Linked DNA regions of Homo sapiens: region 1 is linked to region 2. Evidence: promoter capture Hi-C in human tissues and cell types (Jung and others, 2019). All regions are on one chromosome and are shown on one strand. Each heading gives the region's core, a stretch centred on a gene start or on the middle of the fragment in contact. The rest is flanking DNA. Distances are from core to core; before and after follow the strand shown. Region 1 has its middle 42 kb from the start of SPATA31F3. Region 2 holds the start of UNC13B (unc-13 homolog B).

Evidence for each region. Contacts are between HindIII fragments. The study calls those that stand out against the background at their distance.
Region 1: a fragment that was not itself captured here is called in contact with the fragment with the promoter of UNC13B in region 2 in 1 of the 25 tissues and cell types used here (bladder).

Annotation. Positions count from the first base shown.
Region 1 is chr9:34,852,101-34,856,247 of GRCh38, reverse strand. It overlaps a transcript of PHF24 not described here. Among named protein-coding and RNA genes, the nearest start is that of SPATA31F3, 42 kb to the left of the region's middle. The HindIII fragment of the contact is 5,500 bases long and covers 1-4,126 here.
Region 2 is chr9:35,159,675-35,164,123 of GRCh38, reverse strand. It overlaps UNC13B (unc-13 homolog B), which reads right to left and starts at 2,115. Exons shown (of 40, transcript NM_001371189.2): 1 at 1,819-2,115. The coding sequence starts at 1,840. RefSeq lists a silencer at 2,120-2,249. The HindIII fragment of the contact is 10,387 bases long and covers 1-4,449 here.

The sequences.
Region 1 (4,147 bases), core at 127-2,626, 310 kb after region 2:
AATGATGAACTTCACTGGGCTAAAGAAGCATGTTCCAACCCAATACAAAGAAGCTAAGAATCATGGTAAAACAATACAGGAACTGATAACCAGAATATCCAGCTTAGAGAGAAACATAGCTGACCTGATAGAGCTAAAAAACACAACACAAGAACTTCATAATGCAATCACAAATATCAACAGCAGAATAGATCAAGCAGAGGAAAGAATCTCAGAGTTTGAAGACTATCTTTCTGAAATAAGACAGGCAGACAAGAATAGAGAAAAAGAATGAAAAGGAATGTATGAAATCTCTGAGAAATATGGGATTATGTAAAAAGACTGAACCTATGACTGATTAGGGTACCTGAAAGAGACAAGGAGAAGGAAAACAAGTCAGAAAACATGCTTCAGGATATCATCCAGGAGAACTTCCCCAACTTAGCAAGACAGGCCAACATTCAAATTCAGGAAGTCCAGAGAACCCCAGTAAGATACTCCACAAGATCAACCCCAAGACACATAATCATCAGATTCTCCAGGGTTTAAATGAAAGAAAAAATGCTAAGAGCAGCCAGAAGGAAAGGCCAGGTCATCTACAAAGGAAGTCCACCAGGCTAACAGTGGACCTCTCAGTGGAAACACTATAAGCCAGAAGAGATTGGGGGCCAATATTCAACATTCTTAAAGAAAAGAATTTCTAACCCAGAATTTAATATCCAGCCAAACTAAGCTTCATAAGCAAAGGAGAAATAAGATCCTTTTCAGGACAAGCAAATGTTAAGGGAATTCGTCACCACCAGGCCTGCCTTGCAAGAGCTCTTGAAATAAGCACTACATAGGGAAAGGAAAAACTGTTACCAGCCACTAAAGAAGCACACTGAAGTACACAGATCAATGACACTATTAAGCAACCACACAAACAAGTCTGCAAAATAACTAGCTAGCATCATGATGACAGGATCAAATTCACACATAACAATGTTAATCTTAAATGTAAATGGGTTAAATGCCCCAATTAAAAGATACAGAATGGCAAGCTGGATAAAGAGCCAAGCCCCATTGGTATGCTGTCTTCAAGAGACCCATCTAATGTGCAAAGACACACATAGGCTCAAAATAAAAGGATGGGGGAAATTTTACCAAGCAAATGGAAAACAGAAAAAACCAGGGTCATAATCCTAGTTTCTGACAAAACAGACTTTAAACCAACAAAGATCAAAAAAGCCAAAGAAGGGTATTACATATGGTAAAGCATTCAATTCAACAAGAAGAGCTAACTATCCTAAATATACATACACCAATACAGGAGCACTCAAATTCACAAAACAAGTTCTTAGAGACCTTCAAAGAGACTTAGACTCCCACACAATAATAGTGGGAGATTTTAACATCCCACTGACAATATTAGACCGATCATCAAGACAGAAAATTAACAAAGATATTCAGGACCTGAACTCAGCTTTGGATAAAGTGGACCTGATCGATATCTACAGAACTCTTTACCCAAAAATGACAGGATATATATTCTTCTCATTGCCACATGGCACCTACTCTAAAATTGAAAACATAATTAGAAGAAAAATACTTCTCAGCAAATGCAAAATAACTGACATAATAACAAACAGTCTCCCATACTACAGCATAATAAAATTAGAACTCAAGTTTAAGAAACTCACTCAAAGCCACACAACTTCATGGAAATTGACAACCTGCTCCTGAATGATTCGTAGGTAAATAATGAAATTAAGGCAAAAATCAAGAAGTTATTTTTGAAACTAATGAGAACAAAGAAACAATGTACCAGAATCTCTGGGACACAGCTAAAGCAGTGTTAAGAGGGAAATTTATAGTACTAAATGCCCACATCAAAAAGCTAGAAAGATCTCAAATCAACAACCTAGCATAACAACTAAAAGAACTAGAGAACCAAGAGCAAACAAATCCCAAAGCTAGCAGAAGACAAGAAATAACCAAGATCAGAAAAGAACTGAAGGAGACAGAGACACAAAAAAACTCTTCAAAAAAGCAACGAATCTGGAAGCTGATTTTTTTTGAAAAAAAAAAAAAAATAGATAGACTGCTAGCTAGACTAATAAAGAAAAGAGAGAACCAAATAGACACAATCAGAAATGATAAAGGAGATATCACCACTGACCCCACAGAAATACAAACAACCATCAGAGAATACTATAAACACCTCTATGCACATAAACTAGAAGATCTAGAAGAAATGGATAAATTCCTGGACACATACAGCCTCCCAAGACTAAATTAGGAGGAAACTGAATCCCTAAAAAGACCAATAACAAGTTCTAAAATTGAGGCAGTAACAAATAGCCTAGCAACCAAAAAAGCTCAGGACCAGACAGATTTACAGCTGAATCCTACCAGAGGTACAAAGAAGAGCTGGTGCCATTTCTTTTTTTTTTTTTTTTTTTGAGACGGAGTCTCGCTCTGTCACCCAGGCTGGAGTGCAGTGGCGGGATCTCGGCTCACTGCAAGCTCCACCTCCCGGGTTCACGCCATTCTCCTGCCTCAGCCTCCCAAGTAGCTGGGACTACAGGCACCCGCCACTACGCCCGGCTAATTTTTTGTATTTTTAGTAGAGACGGGGTTTCACCGTTTTAGCTGGGATGGTCTCGATCTCCTGACCTCGTGATCCGCCCACCTCGGCCTCCCAAAGTGCTGGGATTACAGGCGTGAGCCACCGCGCCCGGCCGAGCTGGTGCCATTTCTATTGAATCTATTCCAAACAATTGAAAAGAAGGGACTCCTCCCTAACTCGTTTTATGAGGCCATCACCATCCTGATACCAAAACCTGGCAGAGACAAAACAAAAAAAGAAAACTTTAGGCCAATATCCCCAATGAACGTCAACGCAAAAATCCTTAATAAGATACTGGCAAGCCAAATCCAGCAGCACATCAAAAAGCTTATCCACCATGGTCATGTTGGCTTCATCCCCAGGATGCAAGGTCAGTTCAAAATACACAAATTAATAAATTTAATTCATCACATAAACAGAACTAAAGACAAAAATCACATGATTATCTCAACAGATGCAGAAAAGGCCTTTGATAAAATTCAACATCTCTTCATGTTAAAAACTCTCAATAAACTAGGTACTGAAGGAACATACCTCAAAATAATAACAGCCATATATGACAAACCCACAGCCAATATTAGGCTGAATGGGCAAAAGCTGGAAGCATTCCCTTTGAAAACCAGCACAAGACAAGGATGCCCTCTCTCACCATTCAGATATCACAGGTAAAGGGGTATAAAGCTTATTTAAATAAATAATAGGAGAAAACTTTCCAAGCCTAGGGAAATATGTAACTATCCAGGTACAGAGCTGGGTGTGGTGGGGCACACCTGTAATTCCAGCTACTCAAAAGGATCAATTGAGCCAAGGAGGTCAAGACCATCTGGGCAACACAGTGAGACTCCAACTCAAAAAATACACATGTACAGGAAAGCCAAAGGTCTCCAGTCAGATTCAATCTAAACAAGTACATACAAAAACATATCATAATGAAACTGTTAAAAAACAAAACAAAGACAGGATTCTGAAAGCAGCAAGAGAAAGGAAGCATAGCACATATGTGAGTTTCAATAAGGCTAATAGCAGACTTCTCAGCAGAAACTTTATAGGCTAGAAGACAGTGGGATGATATATTCAAAGTGCTCAAGGAAAAGAAACTGACAATGAACTATACTTTGCTCAGCAAAGCTGTCCATTAGAAATTAAGGAGAGATAAAGACTTTCCCAGACAAACAAAAGCTCAGGTGTTCTTTACTCCCAGACCCATCTTATAAGAATTGCTAAGGGGAGGTTTTCAAGCTGAAAGAAAGGATGCTAATTATTAACATGGAAACATATGCAGTTGACATTTGAACAATGTAGGGGCTGGGGCACTGACCCCCCCATGCAGTTGAAAATCTGCATATAACTTTGGACTCCCCCAGAATTTACCAATAGCCTACTGTTGACCAAAAGGTTTATCAATAACATAAACAAAATTAACACATATTTTGTATATGTATTATATCTTGTATTCTTACAATAAAGTAAGCTAGAGAAAAGAAAGTCATAAGGAAGAGAAAATACATTTACTATTCATTAAGTGGAAGTGGATCATTATAGAGGTCTTCATCTTCATTG
Region 2 (4,449 bases), core at 866-3,365:
AATCACTTGAACCCAGGAGGTGGAGGTTGCAGTGAGCCAAGATCGCAGCACTGCACTCCAGCCTGGGTGACAGAATGAGACTCTGTCTCAAAAAAAGAAAAAGAAATAAAAATAAAGATGTATTTCAATTCATTTCTGTAAGTTTTCCCAAAATGAATACTTTGCCATTCAATATGAATATCTGCATATAAGGTACCTGTTTGTTTCAGTATTTAAAATCTTCTAGATCTCTATTCAAAAAGACAATGGCCTGCTGATCTCGTTTCTCCAGATTCAAAAAAGAAGAAACTTCACTAAAGTAACATTAAAAAGGAAAGAAGTTAGCTAAATAGCAGAATTTCTAGACAATGAAACCTGCCTGCTATTAAAACAAATGAAAACACCAGTAGTTATATAAATTCAGTTAAATAGGAATTTCTGATTCACGAGTGCTCCTGCCTAAAGAGTCTTTCATAAGGACCAGCTCTGTAATACAGTGTGGCCGTAGAGAATTAAACTGTCCAAGAGACACAGCAAAGTCCAACCTCTCCCAAATCCTGCTACTCAGCAGCAGGGATCTAAAGGAATAAATAGATTCCCAGCTGCTGAGAGAAAATGTCTTACTAAAAGCAAAGCAAAATTCTCATTAATGAAAAATCAACCATGAAAGAAGAAAAACTGTATATCTCATAATCCCGGGAAATGGCCAAATCCATTTTGGTTAATGCAGATTCAACAAAATAGTGGAAGAGAACAGAGCAAAGCAGTTTCATCTGCCAGTAGCTGGGGGAAACATCGTTATTGGAGAAATCACAAACAACAACAATGCTTCTAATCTGTAGAGCCAAAAGAAATATGAACTCTCCAGTAAAAGATATCAGGTAAAGGCTCTAGTTGATAAATGCTCTCTCATTCATAATCAAGACACATCAGATATGATAGGCTGTAACCTGAATTTCCCGAGATCAAATTCAATGGCTAATCCAAACCCTGTGTTTTCCTGATCAGATAATCTCTCTGAAGTCACAGTACTTGCATTCATTCAAAACCAGCATTAAGCTTCTACTACGTCAGACACCAGGAATACAAAAACTAATAAGAAACAGTCTCTACCCACATAGAACTTAGTTCGCGTACCATGCCTCATCTTAAACCCCAAAGCTCTTGCTTTAAGATATCTTCTTAGATGGGTCAAGTGTCCTCAGGGGAAAAGCAATAATGGCCCTTCACCTTGAGTTACTGTGAGGCAAGCTAAAATAAAAATAAAAATAAATCATACCTCTTATCCTCAAAAGCAGTCACCACATCCTCCCAAGTGGAACAGAAGAATAATCTTAGCCTATACTACCGGTTAGTGTTCAGGGAAGTGGCAGGGGACAAGACAAGCAATAGAAGGGATGTGACAGCTGTACCACTAACGCATTCAAAGTGTGATAAAAAGAACCTGCTACTAAGCATACTGTAGCGTTACGGTGCGAGGAGGAGGAAAAGAATGAGAGGCTGCCCACCATTCACAGGCACCAACCATCCGCGGTCTTCTAACTCGTCCACTCTCACTAGAGAACCCCAGTCACTGTTTAATAGGATCTGAGCCTGCAGTCCAACAACATTGTCACATGGCTACCAGAATGGAGAGCTAATCGTCCCTTGCAGGAGCTTGGGGGAAAACAAGAAAGTGGAAAGAACTCAAGTGATTGTTAAGTGATTGCCAAAATAATAGACCCCCAAAGCACGGACGGGATGTAAAGTTTGGGTGAGACGGTCACCGGACGTCCACTGGAAGGGTGCGGGGACCTCTACGCCGACACCCCGCCTCCCCGCCTCAGTCCGCGCACTCACCGCGCACGCAGAGCAGTGACATGGCCGAGGATCGGGCAAGCCTCTGCCGCGCCCCAGCCGCGCCGGACCGCTCCCTCTTTCCTCTCAGCAGGTGCCGCGACTGCTCTCGTTACCGGCCCCACGGGTCTGGCAGCTCCTCATGGTCCCGGTCGCAGGTAGCGTCCCGCCGCTGCCTCGGACCCGCCCCAAATCTCACCGTCTGAGCGAACTCCGGGTAGCGGTGAGTACCGGCCGGCAGGCTGGGGACTGGGCGCGGCACAGCGACGCCATCGCTGGGAGGTAGGAGCTGCCGGGACTCCCTCCCGTCATTCCACCCGGGATCCGCGCGAGCGCCTGGGCGGAGCCAACCCGTGGTGCCCCGCCCCCCAGCCAATTAACTCACGCCCAGTCCACCGACCCCGCCCCCCCCCGCGAGCACGTAGGAGGCGGGGTCCCCTTCCTCCTTTCTTTCTTGCGATCCTGAAGGAAGCTCCGCCCACTAATCAGGCTTACTGCAGGGAGCAAGGGGTTGACCCTCAGTTGTGTGACGCGAGAATGGAAGCCCTCTGTTCCTCCTGCATGAGCGGGGCTTCCACCCAAGAACAGATTCTTTTCATTGAAGGATTTCCACTGGACTTTCTTAGAGTCTAGCGGTCATAGCTGACAGCCTGTAATTTTAAGTTAACGAAGTCGCACCGCACAGCAAAGTTAAGTTTTGTTTAGCAACTAGGGCAAAAGACAAAACTGAGTGGGCATAAAGTATGTCTGGAGACCTCAGTTCTTATCTAGACCGTTTTTTATGCTCATCATTGTATCTCCAATGTCTGGAATAGTGCCTAGTGTATGGTAATCAGTCCGTAAATATTTACTGAATGAAGGATGGTAACCACGGAGGGATTGTGAGTGGAGATACCTCTGATCTTTGACAAATCTCCTATCCATGCTTGGTACCAACATGAGCTAACTCCATGGCTCAAACCAACAGGACAATTTGCTAAGGTCTAGGAGCACCCCCTCCAGAGAATCCCTGATCTCCCAAAATTTGGTCGAGATCTAAAGTTCATTTTGTTGTACAACTCCCTCTATTATTATTATTATTATTATTATTATTATTATTATTTTGGAGTTTTACTTGCTTCCAACAAGGAAGGCAAGTTTTCCTGCTTCCATGACGAGGGAAGGCAGGTAACTCTTTTATGGAGTTTGAGCTCACTTCCAACAGGGAAGATGAGGGGTTTTTTTCCTACTTCTGGGATGGTAGACAGCCGTTTTCAGCCTGAGACGCACCCCTAGGTAAGTAGCTGAATAGGGATTTTTGTCTTGGCTAAAGTTAACAACCAGCTGGTCTTAATTTCTGCTTACCATTAGAGTGCTCAGTGATCATATTGTTGGGTTTTTTTTTATTTTGTTTGTCTTTTTCCCATTGACCAACTCTACTTCACTTGGTCAAATCCAAGTGAGAATTCCAAATTATGGGTAACAAGGCCTATCTAATTTGAGTAAAATTCCTCACAGCTGCAAAAGAAAAAACAAACAGAAAACAAAAAACCATGTATTTGGTTTCTGTGTTTGCTTCCTGGTCTTAAAAATTAAACTGTTCTTAGGCCGGGCGCGGTGGCTCACACCTGTAATCCTAGCACTTTGGGAGGCCGAGGCGGGCGGATCACGAGGTCAGGAGTTCAAGGCCAGCCTGGCCAACATAGTGAAACCCTGTCTCTACTGAAAATACAAAAAAAATTAGCCGGGCATGGTGGCGGGTGCCTGTAATCCCAGCTACTCGGGAGGCTGAGGCAGGAGAATTGCTTGAACCAGGAGGCGCAGGTTGCAGTGAGTGGAGATCGAGCCATTGCACTCCAGCCTGAGCTACAGTGTGAGACTCTGTCTCAAATTAAAAAAAAAAAAAAAAAAAATTCAATTGTTCTTTTGTTTACTTTTCTTCCACCCTATACCTCCTTCACCCTTTGCCATCTGCATTACCAAAAAATCGAGAGAAGGCTTCTAATGACTTGAACCTCTTTAAAGAATTTAGGCCGGGCGCCATGGTTCACGCCTGTAATCCCAGCACTTTGGGAGGCCGAGGTGGGCGGATCACGAGGTCAGGAGTTCGAGACTCAGCCTCGCCAACATGATGAAACCCTGTCTCGACTAAAGATACAAAAAAAGTTAGCCAGGCATGGTGGCACGTGCCTGTAATCCCAGCTACTCAGGAGGCAGAGGCAGGAGAATCACTTGAACCTGGGAGGCGGAGGTTGCAGTGAGCTGAGATCGTGCCATTGCACTCCAGCCTGGGTGACAGGGCAAGACTCTATCTCAAAAAAAAAAAAAGAATTTAGAACAAAGGTGCCACTCACCCCCTTTTGGGGTGTTCTCTTGGCTTTGTGGGATTTCAAGAGTCATGGGCAGATTCTTCTTAGGTCTAAAGCTCTGTTTTCCTGTATTGCATGACCTGACCTTTTTGGCTTTGGGTGCCAGAGATGACCTTGCACTGTGAGAGGATTTGACCTTGGTGTGTATATTGTTGGAAAAGAGCTACAAAGTTACGGGTGGCTGAGCACAGTTTATAGGAAGTGGTTTTGGCTGTTTCCTTTTTTTTTTTTTTTTTTTTTTTTAATTTTCTCTCCTAGGAAGTCGTTGTTTAAGAATCCTAATTCT